2 separate regions of the Homo sapiens genome follow, and region 1 is linked to region 2. Evidence: promoter capture Hi-C in 16 types of primary human blood cells and fetal thymus (Javierre and others, 2016). All regions are on one chromosome and are shown on one strand. The core of a region is centred on a gene start or on the middle of the fragment in contact, and the rest is flanking DNA. Distances in the headings are between cores, read along the strand shown.

Region 1 (3,892 bases), core at 649-3,148, 3.3 Mb before region 2:
CAAATGGCCATCTTTGAACTGCCTAGAAAATTTAACCAAGACATTTATCTTAAATTCAAAAGTATTGATAAGCATTCCTGTTTTAAAATAATAAACAGTTGAAAATAGCACCTTTTAATACATGGCATTCTTTTCTTAAAATCCCAAGTACTATATGTATTTTATTAAAAATGTGGAAGATTAATCTGTTTCTCTCTGAATGTAGATTTTCACCAAAACATCTCTTAAAACAGCAGGGACTCAACACTTAAAAATGAACTAGAAGAGCTGGGCACAGTGGCTCACGCCTGTAATCCCAGCACTTTGGGAGGCCGAGACGGGTGTACTACCTGAGGTCAGGAGTTCGAGACCAGCCTAGCCAACATGGTGAAATCCCGTCTCTACTAAAAATAGGAAAAATTAGCCGGGCGTGGTGGCAGGTGCCTATAATCCCAGCTACTCGGGAGGCTGAGGCAGGAGAATTGCTTGAACCCGGGAGGTGGAGGTTTCAGTGAGCCGAGATCAAGCCATTGCACTCCAGCCTGGGGGACAAGAGTGAGACTTCTCCTCAAAAAAAAAAAAAAAAAAAAAAAAAAAAATCTAGAACAGTGATCCCTCCAAAGAGCAGTCTTCTTTAATTACAGGGTAGAATATTTTCCTCAATTTTGCCAGACTAGATCAGAGTGGAAGCTTCTCCTCTCAGAAGTATTCCTAAATACAAAATCCTTGCATTAATATTATCAGACAAAAAGTTATTTTCCCTAAATTATACATTCTTTTTTCAATTTTGACTTCTCGGATTTAGTTCTCTATTATAGTAAATTAATGACAAAAGTATAATTTCTCTGAGTGTCCTCTCTCGTCTAATTTTTAAAAAGTCTGGGTAAAACACGTTTTTCTACAATCACTGTTATAACTAATGCAACTCTATTTTCTGAGTACTAGAGTACAACCAAAAAACGGTCTGTATTTATCATTCAAATTATACTTGTGATTTTCACCTACACACAATTTTATATTTGTAAATGTAGAATCATTACTTAAAACTCAGAGAAACAAAATTTGACATTGAGGGGAAAGTAATTTGTTCACTTATAGCTACTTTTAAAGTTTGGAAACATAAAATTATGTTAAAAGAAGTGTTCTATTCATAATTCTAAGTTTACATGTCAAATTTAACATGCCCAAATAATACTTTCCTATAATGGAATGACAACCCAAAAAATACACTCAAAATAATAAACACAAAATTCAAAAAGTAACACAAAATAATCCTACCCCAGCAGTTGTTCCCTAATCTACAAAATAAGGTCAGACCAAATGATTTCTTAACTTTCAATTCTGACATTTTTTTAAATAGATAATGGAATCAAACACTAGTCACCTTTAGCTTTATATTACCTCAGAAGTCACTTACTTTTTAACCTCTCAGTAAAGATACTGAGAGTTATTTAAAAGGTATCGGCTAAGATATTATCTCCTGATCCAACAATCCCACTTCTGGGCATTTATCCAGAAGACTTGAAATCCGTATGTCAAAGAGAAGTCTGCACTCCACGTTCACTGCAGACAAGTCACAATTATCAAGTTATTCAATCAACCTAAATGTCCATCAATGGATGCATGGATAAAGAAAATGTGGCATATATACACAATAAAATACTATTTGGCCTTTAAAAAGGTAGAAATTGTGTCATTTGCAACAATATGGATGAACCTGGAGGACATTATGGTAAGTGAAATAAGCCAAGCACAGAAAGACAAATACCACATGATCTCACTTATTTGTGTAATCTAAAACAATTAAACTCACAGAAGTAGAGAGAAGAATGATGGTTGCTAGAGGCCGGGGATGTGGGAATGGGGAGATGATAATCAAAAGATACAAAGCCTCAATTAGATAGAAGGAGCATGTTTGACTTTTTTTAGATCTATTACACAACATGGTGAATACAGCTAATAATTAAGCACTGTACATTTCAATACTGCTGAGAGTAAATTTCAAATGTTTTCATCACAAAATATGTCAAATATTTGAGGTGATGGATAGATTAGCTTTATTTAATCCCACATTATATTCAAAAATCATAATGCCACTTTGTTTCTCATAAGTATATACAACTATAATTTGATATATAATAAAAAAAATCTAAAAAGGTAGTCTCCTAACAATCATATGAAGACTATCCTAAAATGTCCTTTAGTAACTGTCATGGACTGAAAAGTATCCCACGAAGAGACAATGTCTACTCAGATCATGTGAATACAAACTTACTTGGAACATGGGTCTTTGTAAACATAATTAAGGGTCTCCAGACACAATCACCCTAGATCAGGGTGGGCCCTACATTCAAAGACACTGTCCTTAAAAGGTAATGAAGAGAAGACAGAGGGAAAGGCCGTGTGAACACAGAGGCAGAGACTGGAGTGAAGATTGCTGTCTGCAATACTTGGACAAGATTTGTCCAGAAGCCAAAGAACTCCAAGAATTGCACACAGCCACAAGATATTAGGAAACAGACATAGAATGTCTGTTTATGGATTCTTCCTTAGAGCCTCCAGAAGGAACCAACTCTGCTGACACTTTGATTTTAGACTTCTGGCCTCCAGACTGTGAGGAAAATTGTTGTAAGCACCCAAGTTTGTCGTCATTTGTTATGGAAGCCCTGGGAAGCTAATACAATATGTATTTCAGAAAGGAAATCCCCCTTTTAAAGGATTATAATCAATACAATTTGTCTTTGGCCATCATACATTTCATATTAGGAATTAGTGAAAGAGCTTCATCATTTCTAGATTGTAAACAATAACCAACAATTTGATGTCTAGACAGGCATATATGAGTCTCTACTTTATCATTTACTATCTATGCATTTGTATTTTGACTTAGAATTAAAATTATATTACTGAAATGTTAAGCAACTTTTCAATCAAGAATATCACCTGACCATTTGTAAATATTTGCTAATACATTGTTATTAGGTTGGTAAAAAAGTAATTGTGGTTTTGCCATTACTTTCAATGGCAAAAACCACAATTACTTTTGCACTAACCTAATATTTCTCTCTGAAGAGAATAAATTCATTCCAGTAATATGAAGCATACCCAGTTTTAATAAACTTGTACATACAAAACATTCCCAAGCTTTTTAAGGGGCCAACATTATGAGAGTGATATGAGATATCTGAAAACAATTTTATTTTTCCATTTTTCAGGCTTTTGAAGCAGGTCTTAAGCTTTCTCAGTTCTTTGCCACTTAATTTCTTACATATGTTTAAAATATATATAAAAAAAACTAATGTAATTTGAAGACCACCACTGCACCTAAAAGAAATTCCATGTTTTCCACCTATTCAGTTGTTCTTTGTAGAAATGGTCTAATTATTAAGTCCATTTTCACAGTTCGAAATATCACTGATATTACCACATAAACCTTTGAATGTCCTGACTATTTGGCCACTGAAAAGTCTTGTTCAGAAAGATGAAAAAAGTTATGAAATTAACAACTGCATAGCAGCTCAGTTCACAAATGAGTCTGGATGTGGGAGGCAGAGGTATGTTAAGCCTATAAATGACATAAGGTAAAATGAAGTAACGAAATTCCAGCAGTTTCTGAGGAACTATAACAGTGAACAAGCATATGAAAAACATTAAATTCCAAAAAATTGACTTTGATTTCAATGAGTCAGCTATACTCCAACCAGCAAATATATAGGCTGGAACTAACAAATATTTTACAGTTTCATATCTTTGAAAAACTCTTTTCCACACATAGAAAGTATAATGTCTATTGTCTGCTAGCAAGTATTTATGAGCATAAGTGAATTTCCAAACTAAAAACACAGAGACTAAGGTAACCACAAAAAACAGAATTCTACGTTTCCAAACTAAGGAAAGAAAAGTCTTAATTTTG
Region 2 (3,823 bases), core at 1,227-3,726:
GGAGAGATTTATGGAACAGGGTCCTGGAGGAGATGGGAGAGAATGGGGTTCAGACTGCAGAGGAGATGAAGAGGGATAAGCGGAGATGAATTTGTTGTTGAGTTGAGCCTGAGGGTTTTGCTCATCTTTGCAGGGTTTGGTGAGAAGGCGTAGGGAGCTTGAGAAGAGTCCTGAGAGTTGAAACGCCACTGAGGGAATGGAAGATGTTGCTGATTAAAGGCAAGGAATAGGAATAGGATGGTTGCATCTGATTAAAGAATACATCTGATATCAGTTTGCACAGTGGGTCAAGGCTAGAGTTAAGAAGCTGAATTGGGGGTTTAATAGCAGAGAATGATGTGTAGTGAGTAATGGATAGACTAAGAACTGAAGTAGTGATTGAATTGGAAAACAAGCTTAGAATTTTTGAGGAAGAGAGAAATGGAAGAATTAGTTCTAATTATAAAAGAGGATATTGGAGTTAAGATTTTCAGAGATAAAAAATTTTTTAGACATTCATGATGTCCAAGAGAGTGGTTTAGTGAAATAGTGTTCATAAGACTCTGGAGTGCTAAGTTTATATTTTATTTTGAAATTGATGAGAAATCAAGGAAGAGACATAGTAATATTAACTTTTCAGAAACTTTCTTCTGATGATAGTGTGAATAATGGATTAAAGAGGGGCAATACTGGAAGCAATTAGACATGTTAAATTCACTGTGAAGCACTTTTGCATCCAACTGAGGGGGAAGCTTTCAAGCCACCAAGTTTTCAGCCACATGTTTTCTACTCTCTCAATTGAACTCAGTTAATTGACCCAATCTATCTTAATTATCTGCTCCTGAAAAGATCACAGCCCCTCAGCTGTGTTTTGCCCACATCATCATCTTTATTAAATGTAATTAGAACCCTCTCTTCTGGGTTAACCTCAGGAAGAACCAGCTCCTTGATATTTTCATGCCATTGAAATTGTGGCGCCAGATATGGCCACAGTGGATAGAAACAGTATAACTTTTCTGCTTACCTTTCACTACATTTTTGAGAAGGTCTGAAAATTTTTCATAAAACTCTCAGGGATGTAGTTTTCAGTTTCTGTGACCTTTGTCTTTCTGAAATGGGAGAGGTTCCCTTGTCCCCCTCACAGGGCGTGCATTGGGGGTGTGGCTCGCTTCTTCAGTGCCCCGCTGCTCAGACCTCTAGAGAAGCATACAGACCGGCAGGCTGTGGGGCTCCGACCCCTTGACAGAGTCTGGGGGTGAATGTTTACAGCTCCTGAAGCCCCAGTGGGTGTGTGTTACAGGATGCTCTTTCAGTTTGCCTTTAGGGGGCTTGTGTTAACCAGCTCAATTAGACCCTCTACCTTGTCGCACAGACAGCGAGCTTTCTGTATCCTGGGTTCTTGCCTTGGTGTACCAGAAGAATTGGATCACACGTGGGCTTGGAGAATGAGTGCAAAGTTTTATTGAGTGGAAGTAGCCCTCAGCAGATGAGGGACCCAGAAGGGAAATGGTTTTCCTCTGGAGTTAGGCCGCTTGGCGGCCCGGGCTCTTTTCCGACTGCCCAGGCCAACCTCCGCATCGTTCTGCCCGTGAATGGCCTGCGGATGTGCCAGCGAGCTCCTCTTCTTCCACCCTTATGCTCCTCTGGACGTCTGGCTGCCTGTGTACCTGCCTGCTAGGGTCTGGGGTTTTCATAGGCACAGTATGGGGGAGTGGCAGGCCAGGGTGGTCTTGGGAAATGCAACATTTGGGCTGGAAGGCAGGAGTGTCAGTCCTCACCTAGGTCGGTGGGCGTGGAGCCCTAGCAAGGGACCACACACTCCTCTACCCAGCACTTCACTTCGCCCATCCCTATCATTTAAAGGGACCACGCTCTTCCCTTCCCAGCACTCCCCTATCATTTCTACACTGTAAATTTTTTTTGTTTATATTTGTCTCATCTATCAGGTTGTGAATTCCTTCACATTAACTTGCATGGAATTCATCTTGTTATAATGTGGTACCTAAAAATCCTAGTACTCTGGTTCAAAAATATATGTTTAACAAATGTTCAGTGAAAGCGAATGAATGAATGAACGATGACTCCCACACACGGAGGAACCCTGTCCTCCTGTAAGGTACATGATTTGAAGGTCCCAACAAGTCTATCTTGGAACAGGCCCAGTTGCGATGCCCATACAGTTCTCGGACTAACAAAAAGTGTCACACCATCCAGATATGCTTAATTTGGAAGCAGCTGTAAGCAGACTCCCGGCCAGCTCAAGTTTCCTCACCTGGGAAGAGGCGGGAGGCTGTTTACCGTACGGAAGCATAGCGGCCGCCTGCCTGAGTTCGGGAGCGCGGGTTCCTTTCCGGGAAAGAAGCCTAGGCCGTTTTCCGTACAGCAGCATGGCGGCCGCCGACGGGAGGCGGTCATAGCATCACGCCCGGGGGAAGAGGCCGCCGTAAAGGAAGCTCTGCTTCCTCTTCTTCCTTCTCCCGCCTCCCACCGGCTGTCGTAAAACGGTGAATGGAGAGCGAGTTGTGGGGGGGAAAAAGGGAGGACAGGGGGCGCGGAGTCAGAGTGGCGCAGCAAGTGGCCGCAGGTGGCGACGGTGGCGGGGGGTGGGGTGTGAGGTAATCCAGGGGTCGCGGAAGAGGAGGCTGAGAGGGTCAAAAGAAAACTAAAGCTGCAGTCCGGCCTACTGTTCCGGGGGCCGCGGAGCCCCCACCCGGGGAGATGGACCTCAACCGGATCATCCAGGCGCTGAAGGGCACCATCGACCCGAAGTTGCGGATTGCAGCCGAGAACGAGCTCAACCAGGTGAGGAGAGGGTCTTCGGCGACCCTCTTCCGCCGAAGGGGCGCCCCTGCCGGCTGGCCGGGCTCCCTCTCCCCGGCGCCCCTCGTCCTCACCCCCACCGGGCTGGGGCTGACGCCTCACGGCTGGTCCCGCTCTCCGACCCCGCTGCCCCCCGGTCCAGTGGAGCAGGGCTCCCAGGATCTTTGCCGAACAGCTCGCGCACCTGTTGGCCACCTTTGCACCTTTTCGTGTCGTCTCCCTTCTCCAGGGCAGTTTGTTCTGCCTACTTGGTCCGCAAGAAGCAGTTTTTGCAACCTGTGCTAGTGTTTTCAGGGTGTGATTTATTTTCCTTAAGTGCGCGGACTTGGGGAGCAGGTGGGAATTTTACTTACAGTTCAAATCTGAGTTCAGCTTTTTTCCAAACCCAGCCCTTTTTAGGTGTTGCTGTGGAGCACGCTGCCCACCGCCTCCTCCTGTCGGGTTGGCAGGACTGTTTTGACACCGATTGGCCGAGTTTTGCGGAGCGCTGGGCAGTGCTGTTGGGAGAGTGCTCTGGGAAGAATAGGCAGTTTTCATGGTGATACTGCTTTATCTAAGACACATCAAAGTAAGATGTGTTGGAGAAATTTCTTATGAATGCTAAAATGTGTAAGACTTCTTTCTTTTCTCCGTCTCCTGTTCTTCCTAATTAGCCTTGACGTCTTTCCAGCGTTACCCCCACACTTCAAAATTTTAATGATCCCAAACTCCAGCTTATTTCTTCTTCCCTACCGGTACTTAAGAATCACAGACCTCTTACTAAAAAGTAGGGATTAAGAGCTACCACTGGGATGGAGCAACAGCTGTTTTAGGTTGTGATGACTTGTAAAATGTAAATATTCCAAAATCAGCTGTTCTCAAAGCGTTGCCCAGGACCTGGAGCTTCAGCATCACCTGAGAACTTACAAATTATGCAAATTACGGGGCTTCAGTCCAGACTTAACGAATCAGAAACTGTGGGGGTGGGACCAGTTGTATTTTAACTAGCTCCCCCAGGTGATTCTGTGCCTCCCGAAGTGTGACT

What was found. Contacts are between HindIII fragments. The CHiCAGO score rates a contact against its expected background, and 5 or more counts as called.
Region 1: a contact is called between a fragment that was not itself captured here and the fragment with the promoter of IPO8 in region 2, in 3 of 17 cell types (non-activated CD4 T cells, total B cells and activated CD4 T cells). The highest score is 8.7, in non-activated CD4 T cells.

Annotation. Positions count from the first base shown.
Region 1 is chr12:34,026,423-34,030,314 of GRCh38, reverse strand. ALG10 (ALG10 alpha-1,2-glucosyltransferase) reads right to left here. Exons shown (of 3, transcript NM_032834.4): 3 at 2,013-3,892. The coding sequence ends at 3,400. Among named protein-coding and RNA genes, the nearest start is that of ALG10, 5.9 kb to the right of the region's middle. The HindIII fragment of the contact is 2,454 bases long and covers 672-3,125 here.
Region 2 is chr12:30,694,522-30,698,344 of GRCh38, reverse strand. It overlaps IPO8 (importin 8), which reads left to right and starts at 2,476. Exons shown (of 25, transcript NM_006390.4): 1 at 2,476-2,781. The coding sequence starts at 2,698. RefSeq lists an enhancer at 2,087-2,586 and a silencer at 2,677-2,726. The HindIII fragment of the contact is 4,530 bases long and covers 734-3,823 here.